Regions from separate parts of the Homo sapiens genome. Here all the other regions are linked to region 3. Evidence: promoter capture Hi-C in human tissues and cell types (Jung and others, 2019). All regions are on one chromosome and are shown on one strand. The core of a region is centred on a gene start or on the middle of the fragment in contact, and the rest is flanking DNA. Distances in the headings are between cores, read along the strand shown.

Region 1 (4,220 bases), core at 1,390-3,889, 540 kb before region 3:
TCAAAAATGTAGAAACTACATAAGTAGCCTGAACTACAGTATGGTTATATGCTGTGCTTTTGAACATATTTTGAGTCGGAATAAGATAGATTGATGCCATGTGCATCAGCTAATCATGAAAGGTAGCTTTTCTAGTTGCCCTTTATAATAAAGTATTCTTTAAATTAGAGATTATTTTTCACTGCACGGGCTATTAACAGTAGCTTTATACAGAACTACTTCTTATGTTTGTGGGAACATGAGATTACTTCTAGACACTTTTCTTGAGTGCAAATGTTACAGCCTTTTAAATACTATACCACTTCTTAATTATGTTTTGTAGTTGCTAAGAGAAACATAATTATAGAATCAGTAAAAAATTTTTAAGTATTAAGACACAAACAAATCCATTTCTTCCACTAGACACCAAAAGCACAATGCCTAGGGCCTATAAAATTTTCAAAACTCACATGCACACAAAGCAACAAAAAAAGTATCTAGTTTATAATTGGAAAAGGAAATTGCAAAATAGGAATTAGTAAATGCTACTATTAAATCTACAGAAGGTATCATTTTTAACTATTCAAAGACAAATCTTAAGACAGTTATATATAAATTAAAATGTTTCATTTCCCTTATGAAAATGTATTTGATATGATGTGGGCCTCCAGAAGTATGAGAGCCTAAGGCTTGCAAAGATCTTAAATTGGCCCAGAGTTTAAGGAGGTAAATCTGACTGATGAAGCTGTTTTCCAACATTGCTTTATTAAACATGGTTTTCATTTCTCCATTAAGTAACATACCAAGGTACACTTACAGTATCAACAGGTATTATAAAATTCCTACATCTGTCTACAGCCTTGATTAATAAAGGTCCGTTGCTTCAGGTATTTGCTTCTACTTAAGATGTTTGCTTTATGGTTTCCTCTAATTTAGCCACTGCTTATTTTTCATCGAGTATATAGTTGCAATCTGCTTTTTGCTCAGACCCTGAAAGAAACTAATCACTGCTCCTCTCCAGTAGCCATCCAGCTTGTGGAACTTTGTTATGGCAGTCCTATCAAACTAACACATTTTTCTCTAGGTTGAAATTCCATATTCCAACAAGAAGGAAACGGATCTATCTTGATTCAGATGCCTTTAATCAACTGTGATCCCACGGGCAGAATCATAACTTCCGCAGACCAAGTGTATATATGAGAGAAAGGGATGTCTTTGCTTGATCCCTAGAAAATTGAGCCAGAGGAAATAATTAAGAGCTGATGCTTTATTTCGGAAGTACAAAACCACGGCAGTGAGGGTGAGGACAAGGTAGCGCTACCATACATCCCCATTTGCTTTAGTCTTGGTTTACACCTGGTTGTCCCGGTAGGTTGCTGCGAGGTGATGAGCAAATTCATCCATGGAAGAGGAAGGCCTTATGATCTCCTATGAGGAGACACAGGGTGATACTCCACAAATGGGGCAATATCCTTTCCTTCAAGAAAGACTATGCGAAGTCAAGTGACCCAGGGGTTCACAGGACTAGGGGTCAGGATCCCACATACATAGTTTTGTTTTTGTTTTTGTCTTTCATTTGGCTTAAGAATTTCTATGTAATGCTAGGTTTCAAAGGCATCTAGTTTGGGGTTTACCGACAAATGTAAGTTTTTTATAGTTACGCTTTTATTTTAATGTGTATTACAAAAATTAGCATTAAATATGCAAAATAAATGTACCTAATAAGAAATAAATGAATTATTTAAAGAAAAAGATCCAGTAAATAATAGTACAGAGAGCACTGCTGCAAACATTGTGGGGGTGGTTCACAAAAGAAGTTCATTCATAAATCTGCATGCAACATGGGAGACTGGCCGTGGGCAGTGGTTCAACCTGGCCTCGAACAGCTCCAATGACTAGGTTCTTGTGCGTCCCTTCTCCTGGTGCCTCAGCCGGGTCTTTCCTCTTCTTCCTCCTTGCTTTTTCCCATTAGTCCTGATTAAATCCTGTGGAGTCATATAGAATTATTCTGTTGCTCCTGCTCCATATCTGTCCTTCCTATATTTGAAGACAATCACAGCCTTCTTCAAACCTTCTTTTTCTCATGTATAACTATTCCTGTGGCCCTTCCTCATTGAGAATCTTTTCTCTTGTCTGTCATTTTCTGAATAAACAGAAAGGATGCCCAAATGTCATGAGCAAAGATTTCTCATGCAACCCACTTGTGTAGAACTCCAAGAGACTAATGAGTCTCTGCTTTTAATGTAACTCAAGTATTTAAAATTCTTGCATAAAAATTATTTCATTTGATCCCCTCGAGTTACAGATGCAAGACGGGCCGGTGTTGGTAGCCCTATTTATTAGACTAGAAAACTGAGGGATTAAATTATTAGTGATTTTAGTTTAATTAGAAGACAACATTCCTGAGCACAAAACGGAGTCTCCACACACATCTGTTGCTTTTTTTTCTGCTATTTATATAGCCTCTTCTGTCATATAATTCACAGTACAAAATATAAGATAGGGCAGATAGATCCTAAGACAATGGAGAAGAAGAAGAAAAGAAGTAAAGTAGAAAATTAAAAGAGAACATATAAGGGATATGGAGTGGGTTGGTAGGCAAAGCAGAGGGAAATGGGTTTGAAAGAGAAATAACACTTTATTTGAGTATTTTATAGTGGATTGTCTTTCTTCATATTGGCTGTTGAACTTGATTTCCCTAAAGCAAGGGCCTGCTGCTTGTGTGGTACTAGGGAAGCCTCTCAGAAAATGCATATTTTCCCCAGAAGGACGAGCCTCAGGTCTGATCATTTGCTAGAAGGATTTACATGACTCAGCATACAGTTGTACTTACAGCTAAGAGCTGTTACAGTGAAAGGATATAAAGCAAAATCAACAAAAGGCAAAAGTTTGTCATACAAAGTCTGAAGGAAACCAGATGCCAGCTTTGAAGGTGTCTATCCCGGTGGAGTCACACAGGACGTGCTTAATTCCTCCAGCAACGATTGTTACAACATGCCTGAACTGTCTACTGGGGAAGCTCGCCAGAGACTCAGTGCCCAAGGTTTTTATTGGGAGATGGGTCCCTTAAGAATTCATTGTCTAGCATGTACCCAATCCAGAATCCCAGAAGGAAAGCAGGTGTTCAACATGAATGAAATTGTACAAACAGTTCAGGCACACCGAGCCATTTTTGTCAGTGAGGGGCCATTGATATCAGTGCAGGAAACTGTTTACCCAAGCTTCCAGATGCCAGTCAAGGGCCAGTCTAAGGATAGCAGTCTCAGGCCTGCTTTGTTAACTTTTCTGCACACACAGTAAATGCTCCATCCACCCAAAAGCTTCACTATACTCTCAAGTTGATTACAAAGAATTTCTTTTTTTCTCTTGGGAGAAGGGAATCCAGACTGTCCTAATATAGAAATGCAAGTCATCAGAAATATACTGGGATAGTAGATAAAGGAGAATGAGTGATACCAAGTAAATAATGAGTAAACCCATGTGACGGATGCACAAATCTATAGTTTCCTCAATGATCCTTAAAGAATGTTATTTCCCAATCCCACATGACAGCTAGTGCTTGCAACTGAGATATTTCTGCCCCTTAAATCTAATCTAAATCTTTCCTTCTTATTGAACTAGGTCTTTGCATTCCCTGTGGAAGTTCAATTGGTGACAGCATTACACATCATCAGGATCTATGATGACATCTATACTGGGGTGTATCCCTAAGAAGAGAATATTTGATCCTTACATTTCAAGAGTTCTTAAACTTCTACACATAGAAAATAAACATAATAGATTCAGAATACTTGAGGAAAGTATGCCAAAATCCAGTTTCTTTCAGAGAAAAGTTAGGCACTGATTAGCTGTGTCTCCTTGAGCAATTAAACCTCCAAGCCATTCTGGCCAACATAGTGAAACTTCATCTCTACTAAAACAAATACAAAAAAATTAGCAGGCCATGGTGGCACATGCTTGTAGTCCCAGCTACTCAGGAGGCTGAGACAGGAGAATTGTTTGAATCCGGGAGGCAGAGGTTGCAGTGAGCCAAGATCACGCCACTGCACTCCAGCCTGGGCGACAGAGCAAGACTCCATCTCAAAAAAAAAAAACAAAAAACCTCCAAGCCTTAGTTTTCTCATCTGTAAAATGAGGGGATCAAACTACGTGCCCTCCAAGATTTCTTCTGACTGAAAAACTCTCTAAGTCAATGGGTTTTTATGATTCTGTCATGTAAACTGCCATTGGCATTGTTTATA
Region 2 (4,197 bases), core at 992-3,491, 630 kb before region 3:
AATTAAGATTGAAGGATTCTGAACCATAAGAAACTTCCTCTGGAAATGAATGTGGTAGCTGAGTCCACATGTGTGGGAGGCCAATTGCATAGCTGGGAGTTGTCACAATTAACTTCCACAGAGAATTCAATGTTTATTAAATAAGTGATTTAAATGTGCTAATTTGAAGCACGCATATATATTATTGAAACACAGCTGCAATCACAGCAAATGTTTGCAAATTAGACCAGAAAAAGATCTTTTCATTAATGGTACTTAAGAATTTCTGAGCATGGTGACTATTTAAAAGCAGATTAAATTTTAGTCAATTTTATTGCGTATTTAAGTTATGTATGGGTAATGTACCCCCTCATTGTCTGCACCCCAAATGGACTGTTTCCACTGTCCAGACCTTGGCTGGAACACTGAGGACATATGTATCCGACCTCTACTCAAATATGGATGGATGATCATATAACTATCCAATTACTAGGATGGAAAATAAGCAAACCCTCAACCTTCAACAAACATAGAAAGGGCAATAGGAACAATAAGCTGCGAATGCCTTTATGGTTTTACATCACAGTTTTGCAGATAGCTCTGCAGATAGCAACTATCTGTAAATAGCTGCAGATAGTTATACAGTTTATGATAACCCATTGATCATAAACTGTGTAATGACACAGTATTTCCAAAGGAATTCTTTATAGTAAGAATAAGAATTTCCACCAGATAGAAAAGAGACATTGCACATACAATAGTGTCACACTTAAATCACTTATTTAATAAACATGGAATTATCTGCAGAAGTTAATTGTGACAACTCCCAGCTATGCAGTTGGCCTCCCACACATGTGGACTCAGCTACCACATTCATTTCCAGAGGAAGTTTCTTATGGTTCAGAACCCTTCAAGCCTGATTCCGGTGTAGTTCATAAGTGGCAATCATAAACTGTGTAATTCCACAATAGTCCTAGTTTCAATATTTTCCTGGGAAAAGAAACATTTTGAGAAATCCCTGACCTGTGTGGTCCATTTTCATGGTACTTGAGGCTTCTTTCTAACAATAGATTGTGGCCATTTTCCTTAAGCAAAGCTTTGTTTCCACAGCTTTGCCGGTCTCAAAAGACCAACTCAAATATAGAGAAAAAATATGTCTTTTGCTCAGGTACAGAAACCACATTGTAGGTCAATAAATAGGAATGTCCTCTTGATACCATTTAACCCTACACCTATCCCAAAGTCAGCACAACTTCAACTAAAAGCAGAGCAACCACGTAACTAGTGGGAAGGAGAGAGTAACCAAAACCATCAGGGTCATGGTGGAAGAAACTCAGAAACGCATGATGAGGTAGAAGTTGGGATGCCCGCAGTACATCAATGTCTCCTTTCCGTCTGGGGGAAATCCTTATTCCTACTATCAATAATTTCTTGGAAATACTGTGTTACCTCTATGGGAGAAAGAAGAGCTCTTCTAAGATTTCTAATTTCACCTTGGAGTTTCTTCTGTTTTTCCTCTACCACACTCAGCCACCCCAGAAGCAGTTAATCCTCCTGAAAATAAAATACTTTTGCAGTTAGTCGTTTCCAGTCTTATTTTCTCAGCCATTCTGCTTTCATGCCAGCTCCCTGACTATGATTATATTGATCCATGTATCAGTGAAACAAAGCCCAGCATAAGCTCAAGACCTTGGGTTGTCCACCTCATAGCTCATTTTGACAGACTTAGCTAGAGGTTTGGGTTTTTGTTTGTTTGTTTGTTTGTTTTTCCCTCTGTTTTGTTTCCTTTTTCAACTAAGAATATCTTCAAGTTTAGGGACAAATTTATAGACTTATGTAGTGAGTTCTCTGGAATTCATCTCCGTGCTAGTTACCCCTCCTGCCATGGCACAGAGCACATCAGACCCTTCCTCTGTGAAAAGGACAGATTCCTGGTGTTCTCAAGCTTAGCTGATTGCCACAGCGTGGTGTGGTGTGACTGCCATCTGCTGGCATGGGGCTGACATTACAGGATGGTAACCATGCACTCCCTGGTAAAATAATCAAGAAGTACTTGTTTGGAAAACAAAAGCTTTCTCTGGAGAAATGAAGAACAAGTTTTGTTATAAACCTTGTCCATCTTCAACACCAAAAAAAAAAAATTCTTTTACTCTGGAAAAGCTAAAGAAAAACAGAAAATTGGTTTATGGCAGACTTCCAAGTGTTCAACACAGTGAGGAAATGGGATTATCAGCTACTACCCTTATGACCACAGCAGAACCCAGTAGCATAAAATGAGAAACCAAACCTCACTGACTCCAGCAACAAGTTCCTACCTTGTGAAGCCACTTGTGTGTGGACACTAACACCAATGACAGGTTGAGGGATCTTCCTTAAGATACTGACAATGTCTGTAACATTTTTCTCTTTAAAAGATTGTGTTTTTTTGGAACCCAAGTGACCAAAACATAAGCACTGACATTTAGGGGATGAGAGACTTTTTTTCTCATTATAAAAGCCATGCCTCAATGTTTAAGGATCAGAATCATGCGTAAGAGATGTTTATATGAGCTCGCCTTTAAAATCAGAGCCAGGCACTTTTGCTCAGTCCTGACTTTCTTTCCAAGTCTTATCTTCAGGATGTGTGGACCTGCACAATTTGTGGCAATGGAAGCCAAGTTTCTATTGCTGACTTCAGTGGGCGTTGCTGCTTATTTCCATGTCAAAGAATGGGACCTTGTATAATTGTGAATAGACAACAAGGAAGAATTTCCCATAGAGAACACCCTGATAGCGGAATAAAACTAAACTTCTTGAAAGGGCTTTATTCATTGTAGAAGCAATAAAGTCAACACTGAAGGCACTGTCTGCTGTTAATCAACACAAATTTCTTCATTAAAGCCTATGGGAACTGAATCAAATTTCAAATTTTATAAAACCAAGGGTATATAATAACTATTATATTTCTGCACTTATACAAATGTAATTTTTCTTATCCCCAAATCCTGTTTCTCCCCCAAGCTTCCCCATCTTATAAATGGCCACACATCTGCTCAGTTGCTTGAACCCCAATTGTACAAAATCATCCTCGCAAGCTCTACGCTCTCACTCACCAAACCCAATCCGTCTCCATGTCTTGGCAGCCCTACCTCAAAATCCAAAACTATCTCCACCTCTCTTTATCTACAGGGGCCAGAGGAGTCCAAGAGTCCAGCCCACTTTCATTTTTCTTTATCATCTACAACCATAGCCTATTTAATGGTCCCAGCATCCACTTTTGCCTCTTCATCTTCAATTCTCAGCAGCACAGTTGGAATGATCTTTCTAAACTATAAACCTCCAGGGATGACCCAGAGAATAAAACCTGAACCCCATAGCATGGTTTACAAAGCCCTTCCATAATCTTGCCTCTACTTATTCTTCACTCTCTCAGCTTCCTCCCTTCCCACAACTCAATATACTGCAGGCACTCTGGCCTTCTCTCTGTTCTTCCAACTCTCCCAGGCTGCTCCCACTTAGGAGTTCAGATTTGCTTATTTCTCTGTATGGCACCATATTCTTGCACGTCCAGCTCCTTCTTTTCATTTCAGTGTCACAGAGAATATCACTGCCTCAGGCCAGTACACCTTCCTGAGCACCCTGTGAAAATCAGTCCTTTCCCTTCTGGATTTCATAACTCCATTTTACTTGCTTCATACCATTGATCCTATCAGCAATTATCTTGTTCCTTTTTTTTCACTTTTTTACTTATATTCTAGTATTGGAATGTAAAGCCATGAAAACAGAGACTTTGCTATCTCATTTAACATTGTATCACCAGTACTTAGATTAAATCTGGCTCATATTAAATACTTAATAAATACACGTAAAGGAAGGAATGTGTGTGCACATTATCCATCTAATTACATTTGCCTATAATTAAGGTTTTCTCTTATAAGGAAGAATAATTGGCACCTTTTTAGGAAGAATCTCAAATTGGATCATGTGTAAGAGCTTGAGCTCTGATATCAAGCACTATTGGTTGGTGTCTTAGGTGAGGATAACCAGTATCAGATACTGAGAAAGAATTTGTGTGCAAATTGTTCATTAAGAATGGGATCTCCAGGAAACTTATAAGGGACAAAAAGAAGGAAAATAAAGTAGGGAAGAAGCCAAGGATGGGCATGACCTCAAGCAAAAGGTTTGATGAGGAAAAATACAGTCCAATCCCAGTGGGGCATGCTGGAGTGGAAGTTACCC
Region 3 (4,123 bases), core at 1,386-3,885:
CAATTCGGGAGACTGAGGCAGGATAATCACTTGAACCCGGGAGGTGGAGGTTGTAGTAAGCTGAGACCACACTGCTGCACATTCCAGCCTGGGTAATAGAGCAAGACTCTGTTAAAAAGAAAAGAAAGAAAAAAAAAACTGCTGGCAAGAAAGATATTATTATCCTGACTTTTCAAACGAGAAACTGGAGGTCCACTGAAATTAAGCCACATGCCCAAGGTACTAGTAAATGGCAGATCTGGGGTCTGAATTCAAGTTTTCTCTAATTGTCAGCACCAAAGTTTTTCTGACAGTACACAACACTTTGGGATGTACAAGTAGAGATGGGTAACACTGGGGTCTGGGATAAGGAAATTAGCCATAATTAGGCAAGAAAAGCAGGAAGCACATGCCAAAACATAAACAGAACACAAAAGAGCAAGGAGGGTAGCTAGCTCCCCCTAAGGTCATGCAAAACAACTGGCAAGATATAGAGGGGCCAGGCGAGGTGGCTCATGCTGTAATCCCAGCACTTTGGGAGGCCAAGGTGGGCAGATCACTTGAGGTCAGGAGTTCGAGACCAGCCTTGCCAATACAGCAAAACCCCATCTCTACCAAAAATAAACAAAAATTAGCCAGGGCTGGTGGTGCACACCTGTAATCCCAGCTACTCCGGAGGCTGAGGGAGGCAAATCACTTGAATCTGGGAGGCAGAGTTTCTAGTGAGCCGAGATCCTGCCACTGCACTCCAGCATATATATATATATATATATATATATATATATAGAGAGAGAGAGAGAGAGAGAGAGAGAGAGAGAGAGAGAGAGAGAGAGAGAGCACCTCCAGTCCCACAGCCCCACTTCACAGGGCTGAGATAATCTGCACCCTGATCAGAAGAGAAGGCCTCCTGCCTTGAACTGTTGTTCTTAGCAACTTGGGCTGGGGGGAGCTTTGGGTCACATGTGGTTTCAATCACTGCCTTTATCTGCATCATTGTCACTGTATTTGGAAGATGACTGAATCCTTATTCCTGTCCCAGGCCTCTCTACATTGTGCAGGGGGTTCAAGTCAAATCTGGAAAAGCTGTCTCATCTTTGGCAGGTCAGAAATAGGGAGAGGCTTCACGAATGTATAGTAATGTCCCACCCATGCCCCTTCCCTGCTTTATTAAAACAAATCTGAAACAACAGAGGTCTGAAACTTTCCACTCTATCATTTCATACTGCCTTGTTATAACCCTGCCCTTCATCCACACCCCGCTGGGGTTTTTGCAGCCTGAGGGAAGCCGGGAAGTGTCTGCTCCTAGCTCTCAGTCACTCCCATAATAAACAATCACTAAACAGCCGGCTGCCCTAGGCAACTGTCTAGCTTGCCCGAGCCCTGAGACTTTAGCTAGGCCAGAGGGTGGGAGGTGTTTTCTGTAAAGCAGTGTTCAGGATCTGAGGCCAGGGAGTTTGACTTTGACCAGAGATACTGTTTGGGAGCCTAGCACATCTTTGTGGACCTGGAGGATCTTTAGCGGGACTGCTCCTCGGTTACCTGAGTTATCTAATGAAGTTCTTCCACTGGGAGTGGCAGGAGCTTGGGCCAAGGAGTGGGAGGTCAGTGAGGGAAGGACCAACTATTTGGCACTAATTGTACATAAGGTAGTTTTCCTGATGCAAGTGTTCCTTCTATAGCTGGGACAGTTGGCAATTCTACCAGTCATATGTCCTTAAGAGATATCTTTAACACCACCACCACCACCACCACCACCAAGAGAATAACATCACTTTGAGGACTGGGGCAAGCTTAAATTAACTGGTTTCCCTGCAGCCATTAGAAAATTTATTTTTTCTCTGTGATTGGATCTCTTGGAAGCTTTCTTCATAATAGACAGAGGGGGCTCAGGCAAGGCGGCCTAAGTAGATAATGAGGATTTAGGATAGCCGTCTTACACTCTTAGCACAGAGGCAGGCATGAAGAATTGCAACAATTCCTCTTGATTGTAATAATTCCTCTTTATTGTTGGGCATTGGGGTGTTTCTTTGGTTTAAAAAAATGTGCTATGTAGAGGAGGAGTAAGGGGAGATTGTTTTAATGCTTAGCAGAAAATTGAAATACTGGGTCTCGGAGAGTGGAAGGAGGGCTGGGAGAGGCAGCTTTCGGATCGGCGGTCGCTTTCTATGAAGTCTTCCTTTCCTCCCTGCTTCCCTCCTTCAAAGCATCTTTCTCTAGGCGTTCCGGCAGGCAGCCCAGGAGGCCAGATTCTCCAGGGCGCCCGGGGCCGCGCGGCACGGGGCCCCTGCCGGTGCCTCCTTCCCCGGCCGCCGCGTTTCCGCAGGCGCCTCTGGTCCCCGGCACGGCGCAGGCCGAGATCCGGGCCTGGGCGCGCCGAGGGGCCGCGGGGCTCGCACCGGGCCGTCCCGCGCTCCACCTGCCCGGCAGCCCGCCGGCAGCTTGCAACCCGGGAGCCCCGGCTCCCTGCGCCCCCTACGCCCCCAACGCCGCGCCGGCGCCTCGGCCCGCGGCCGGGGGTTATGAATGGGCGCAGCGGAAGCACCGCCCCCCCCGGACGTGACGCTCGGCCAATGGCAGCGCGGGCTGCGTGGATGGATGAGGTCAGCGCTGTCGTGTCGGGAATGGAATGTGTAAGTGTAACATTCAGAACCGGGTAACATTCGGCGACCGAACGCGGCGGTCGGCAGCGTTCGCGCGGGGGCCTGCGAAGCGCTGCTCGGGGCCGGCACTGCCCGCGGGGAGGACGCGCCGCCGCCGCCACCCAGCGCCGCCGCCGCCGCCGCCTCCAGCCGGGCCGCCGCGCGTCCCGGGGGCCGGCCCCGCGAGCGCAGGAGTAAACACCGCCGGAGTCTTGGAGCCGCTGCAGAAGGGAATAAAGAGAGATGCAGGGATTTGTGAGGTTACGGCGCCCCAGCTGCAAGATGCACTAGCCGGCTGAACCCGGGATCGGCTGACTTGTTGGAACCGGAGTGCTCTGCACGGAGAGTGGTGGATGAGTTGAAGTTGCCTTCCCGGGGCTCATTTTCCACGCTGCCGAGAGGAATCCGAGAGGCAAGGCAATCACTTCGTCTTGCCATTGATTGGGTATCGGGAGCTTTTTTTTTCTCCCCTCTCTCTTTCTTTTCCTCCGTCTTGTTGCATGCAAGAAAATTACAGTCCGCTGCTCGCCCGCCCTGGGTGCGAGATATTCAGCCCCGCTCTCTCCCGTGCATTGTGCAACCCAAAGATGAAAGACCGAAGGGGAGAAAGTTAAAGAAATCGCCCACATGCGCTGGATCAGTCCACGGCTTGGGGAAAGGCATCCAGAGAAGGTGGGAGCGGAGAGTTTGAAGTCTTTACAGGCGGGAAGATGGCGGACTGGAGCTGAAAGTGTTGATTGGGAAACTTGGGTGATTCTTGTGTTTATTTACAATCCTCTTGACCCAGGCAGGACACATGCAGGCCAAAAAACGCTATTTCATCCTGCTCTCAGCTGGCTCTTGTCTCGCCCTTTTGTTTTATTTCGGAGGCTTGCAGTTTAGGGCATCGAGGAGCCACAGCCGGAGAGAAGAACACAGCGGTAGGAATGGCTTGCACCACCCCAGTCCGGATCATTTCTGGCCCCGCTTCCCGGACGCTCTGCGCCCCTTCGTTCCTTGGGATCAATTGGAAAACGAGGATTCCAGCGTGCACATTTCCCCCCGGCAGAAGCGAGATGCCAACTCCAGCATCTACAAAGGCAAGAAGTGCCGCATGGAGTCCTGCTTCGATTTCACCCTTTGCAAGAAAAACGGCTTCAAAGTCTACGTATACCCACAGCAAAAAGGGGAGAAAATCGCCGAAAGTTACCAAAACATTCTAGCGGCCATCGAGGGCTCCAGGTTCTACACCTCGGACCCCAGCCAGGCGTGCCTCTTTGTCCTGAGTCTGGATACTTTAGACAGAGACCAGTTGTCACCTCAGTATGTGCACAATTTGAGATCCAAAGTGCAGAGTCTCCACTTGTGGAACAATGGTAGGAATCATTTAATTTTTAATTTATATTCCGGCACTTGGCCTGACTACACCGAGGACGTGGGGTTTGACATCGGCCAGGCGATGCTGGCCAAAGCCAGCATCAGTACTGAAAACTTCCGACCCAACTTTGATGTTTCTATTCCCCTCT
Region 4 (4,127 bases), core at 440-2,939, 940 kb before region 3:
AATAAAATGGAGGATATGAGAAATGTGACAGAGGTACAACTTCATTGGCTTCATGTAATAGAAACCCAGTAACAGTGGCTTACTGACTTTATGAAATGAGGTGTTTTGTTTTGTTTGTTTGTTCAGATAATAAGGAATATGGACACAGATAATCATGACATAGTAGCACCGTGTTACTGCCAGCAACCATGACTTCTCCCTTCTGGCTTTACTATTTTTTGCATGGAGCTTTTCTCCTTGTACTCACAAAAGGGCTGCTACAATTCAGACATTGCATCTACATTCTAGGCATGAAGGGAAAGGTTGTGGATCAAGAGCTGATGAAACAAGACAGTTAAGTTAATCAATTTTTAAGGAGTTTTTCCCAGAAAACTTTTGGGGTAAAATCCACTTTCATCTCGTTGTCCAGAACTATGTCCTATGCTAGCAGCAAGGGAAACTAAGAGATTAAACATTTTTAATTAGGTAAATCAAGGCTATGGAAGCAAGAATAGATATTGAGTAGGCAACCTGTAGTGCTTGACTTTTTAAGGGTACCCTGGACATTATCAGCAACAATGGGGTTACAGAGAAGCAAATCAATTCGAGGTATTAACACAAGTGGAAGTGACAAGATCTATTGATTCTTTGGAAATTGAGGGTAAAGAAGAGGAAGAAATCAGGATGATTCCCAGGTTCCTGCCTTAAACAATTGGATGCGGTGTCATTTACTGAAACAAAGAATGCAAATTGTGAGGAGAAGTAGATGAATTGAATCTTGGATACGTGGAGTTGGTGTCTGTTGGCTCAAAAAAATTCCAGCCAGAGGTACAGATTAGAAAGTCATCTACATATCAGTCGTAATTAAAGTCATTGGAGTGAATGAGAGCTCAAAAAATAGAAACTGAGAAGAAAAAAACAGTCAAGGTATTTTAAAGACAGAATGAATAGGATTTGGTAAAGTGTCAACTCTGAAGAGGAAGCATGTTCAGATTTTATAACTGGAAGATTCTTCGATGTTTTGGCAGTGCAAAAAGGAAATTGATACTTAATAGCACTTTTTTCTCTTTTTGACAAGGCATTTTTATTCTTTGTAGTCAGCTCTAACACATGATCAATTTTAAATTGCTTTATGCTCTCTAAGACAAATAGCTGATTAAATTGAATATGTGTAATAGAAACTGTTAAACCTGAGTTGTGACTTGACATTTTTGAGGCATGGAGCCAGCTTTCAATGCCATCACAAATTTTGCTCCTGGGATGAGTATTTACTTATTCTGTATCTAAGCTCACCATTTTGCAAATGTGGAGACTGTGACCCATGCTAACCTTGTGGGGACAGGTCAAATAAAGGTTTACAGTACATGGGCTCCTGAGAAATAGGAAAATAAAGATTGAGTTACTAAAGAGCACGCTTTTCTCTCTCATTGCTATACACAGAGGTCAGAGATGAGTGTTCTTCAGGGTCATTGCCACTTCCTGTTCTTCCTTTACCCCTTGCTTCTGAGAAGCCTCAATCAGTAGGGTTTCCACACACTGAACAGTGAGTGGTTGACCTATTGTATTTGTTTGATACTCAACACAGAGAAGTTAAGAAAGGCTATCAGGCATTTGCTGAACTGATAAAACAGAATACAATCCATTCCTGGGAAAATGTTTTCTGCTTTTATGGAGATAAATATTTATTTCAACTCTACTGAAAAGCATGTGCCTAATAAATAATCTGTTTCTTTTTTAATGGTTTGTTTATGTTTTAGATAATTCACATCACAGATTTGGGTCGCTTACATCATATAAAATTCTCAAAATGTATTTTCATAAATTACTTTCGAGAAGATCTAAACTTAATCATCAAGAAAATAGCCTTCATTTTCTATGTTCCTATAAATGACTAAAATTTCTACTTCATAACATTCATAGATATTGCAGTCTTTTATACACATAATTACTTTTTATGTGAAAGGATTCAAAAGCTTATAAGGAAGGGCATGTCACAATTTATACAACATTGAGGAACACTTTTGTTTAAAAACAATAATTTTGTTGCAAACATTTTTAAAAACATGTTAATTCCAGAGGCATCATTCCAGAATACATCACAGAAAATGGAAGCAAGAATCTAGGGACAGGACCCAGTAAGAATGATGTGAGTGATTTCAGATGCCATAAGGATATATAACTAGGTTTATGTTTTAGTATTGTACCGCCGAGCTCAACTCAAAATTGGTTTTGTGTTCCGTTCTTCTAACCAATCCCAGCCCCACGGCATCTCTGCTAAGTGACTCTTTATCTCTTACATGCTTCCTAAATGAATATCATCATCACTTATCTTTTAAAATACAAACGTCTTTATATGACCTGTTTGCAATCTGATTATTGCAATCTGAAGAATTCCCCTGGCAAATAATGACATTTACAAGTTGCATTCCTAAAATACAGTAGTCTCCTCTTATCTGCAGTTTCACTTTCAATGGTTTCAGTTCAACAGTAGTCTGAAAATATTAAATGGAAAATTCCAGAAATAAGCAATTCATAGGTTTTTAAATTGGGTGCCATCTGAGTAGCATGATGAAATCTCATATCATCCTACTCTATTCTGCCTGGGACATGAATCCCTCCTTTGTCCAGCCTATCCATTCTGACTAGCTACCTGGTCGTTAGTCACTTAGTAGTCATCTTGGAGATGAGAGATACTGTTGTAATATTGCAGAGCTTGTGTCCAAGTAACGCTTATTGTACTAAATCATGGCTCCAAAGTACAAGAATAGTGATGCTGACATGTTGTTTTAATTGTTCCATTTTATTATTAGTTGCTGTTAAGCTCTTACTGTGCCTAATTTATAAATTAAATTTTATCATAGCTATGTATGTATAGAAAAAAACATAGTATATATAGGGTTCAATACTATCCACGGTTTCAAGTATCCAATTGGAATGTATCCCCCGTGGATAAAGAAGGGAATACTGTAAATTATTTGAAGTCAACAGACTAAATCAAGAACTGAAGGAAAGAATGAAGATTATTTTGTAAGTTTAACTGTGTGCAAGCTATCATATTAGAGATCTTTAGAAATAAGCCCCCCCCACCTTTTTTTTTAATTGCCTACAATCCTGAGAGGCACTGTTACCATCTGGAGACACAAATGGAGAATGGACTTTAGAAGAGTTTAGTAACTGACTTCATGTTTCAGAGGAAAGTAGTGAAGTGAGGATTTAAACCCTGATTGTTCACTGCACAGCACCTGCTAAGAACTATTGCTCACTAACTCAAATGCAATCCTTCACACTGTGTATGTTAGGAAATGTGGAAGCCAGGTGCCAGACACCTTCGGGTACTCAAGTGTTCCTGCTTTGAGGAGTAATAATGCTCTTTCATCCTTAAATGAAACAGCCTTGAGCTTCTGCCTTGCAAACTTTGCTAGCGTATTGCCCTTACTAAGATTGCTGAGAATTCCTGAAGACTTATTTCCTATTCACTGCTGCTCATCTCTTTTTAGCATCTTGACCCTCTCTTCCTGCAGCTCATTTCACCTCTCCAACCTGCTCTCACCCACAGATAGAACATAGTCCCCCCTTTTACGGTTTCCCTGAAGCATCCCAATATAAAGCAGTTTTATGCAGCATTTTTCCACTGAAGTGTTGAGGATAACAGAGTTATTATTGTAGAGCACATCAAATCAAACCACTTAAAATTGAGTAGGAGGCATTCCTGCTCATCAGAATTCTCTAGCCAGTATCACACTAGGAATTTCCTCTTTGCCGTCTTCGCTCAGGACTTTCCTCCTCCACGTTTTTCTCTGGAATTTTATGCCTTCCCCTCTCTTCTTGGTTCCCAGATTCCCTTCCTCTCCGGCTCTCTTTGGCTGCCAAAGAAACTCTAAAATCTTTTTGTTGTTTTATTTTCACTTTGCAGAGATTTTAGCTCTCTTGCTTGTTTGCCTTCAACTAAATTTGTTAATAAGTTCTAAAATAAAATACTTTTTCCTTAAGACAAATATTGCCACCAGCAACAAGTCTTTCAGTTAGAATGTAATAATTCTTATTTTTCTCTTCCCTGAAGATAGAATGGCACAGAAACAACATCACCAACTAGCCTTGGGAGAGGGCGGGCTTGCTTGACTGTTAATAATTTATTCCACAGATATTAT

Evidence for each region. The method cuts DNA at HindIII sites, captures the fragments that hold promoters and counts their contacts. A contact is called where the count stands out against the background at its distance.
Region 1: a contact is called between a fragment that was not itself captured here and the fragment with the promoter of EXT1 in region 3, in 2 of the 25 tissues and cell types used here (IMR-90 fibroblasts and hippocampus).
Region 2: a contact is called between a fragment that was not itself captured here and the fragment with the promoter of EXT1 in region 3, in 2 of the 25 tissues and cell types used here (aorta and hippocampus).
Region 4: a contact is called between a fragment that was not itself captured here and the fragment with the promoter of EXT1 in region 3, in 1 of the 25 tissues and cell types used here (IMR-90 fibroblasts).

The regions. Positions count from the first base shown.
Region 1 is chr8:118,650,321-118,654,540 of GRCh38, reverse strand. All of the region lies in intron 2 of SAMD12-AS1 (SAMD12 antisense RNA 1), which reads right to left. Among named protein-coding and RNA genes, the nearest start is that of SAMD12, 30 kb to the right of the region's middle. The HindIII fragment of the contact is 3,936 bases long and covers 672-4,220 here.
Region 2 is chr8:118,741,563-118,745,759 of GRCh38, reverse strand. No RefSeq gene overlaps it. Among named protein-coding and RNA genes, the nearest start is that of SAMD12, 120 kb to the right of the region's middle. The HindIII fragment of the contact is 3,609 bases long and covers 437-4,045 here.
Region 3 is chr8:118,110,338-118,114,460 of GRCh38, reverse strand. EXT1 (exostosin glycosyltransferase 1) reads left to right here and starts at 2,635. Exons shown (of 11, transcript NM_000127.3): 1 at 2,635-4,123. The coding sequence starts at 3,415. RefSeq lists silencers at 2,213-2,592, 2,693-2,782. The HindIII fragment of the contact is 7,998 bases long and covers 1-4,123 here.
Region 4 is chr8:119,052,624-119,056,750 of GRCh38, reverse strand. It overlaps a transcript of COLEC10 not described here. Among named protein-coding and RNA genes, the nearest start is that of COLEC10, 13 kb to the left of the region's middle. The HindIII fragment of the contact is 6,140 bases long and covers 1-4,127 here.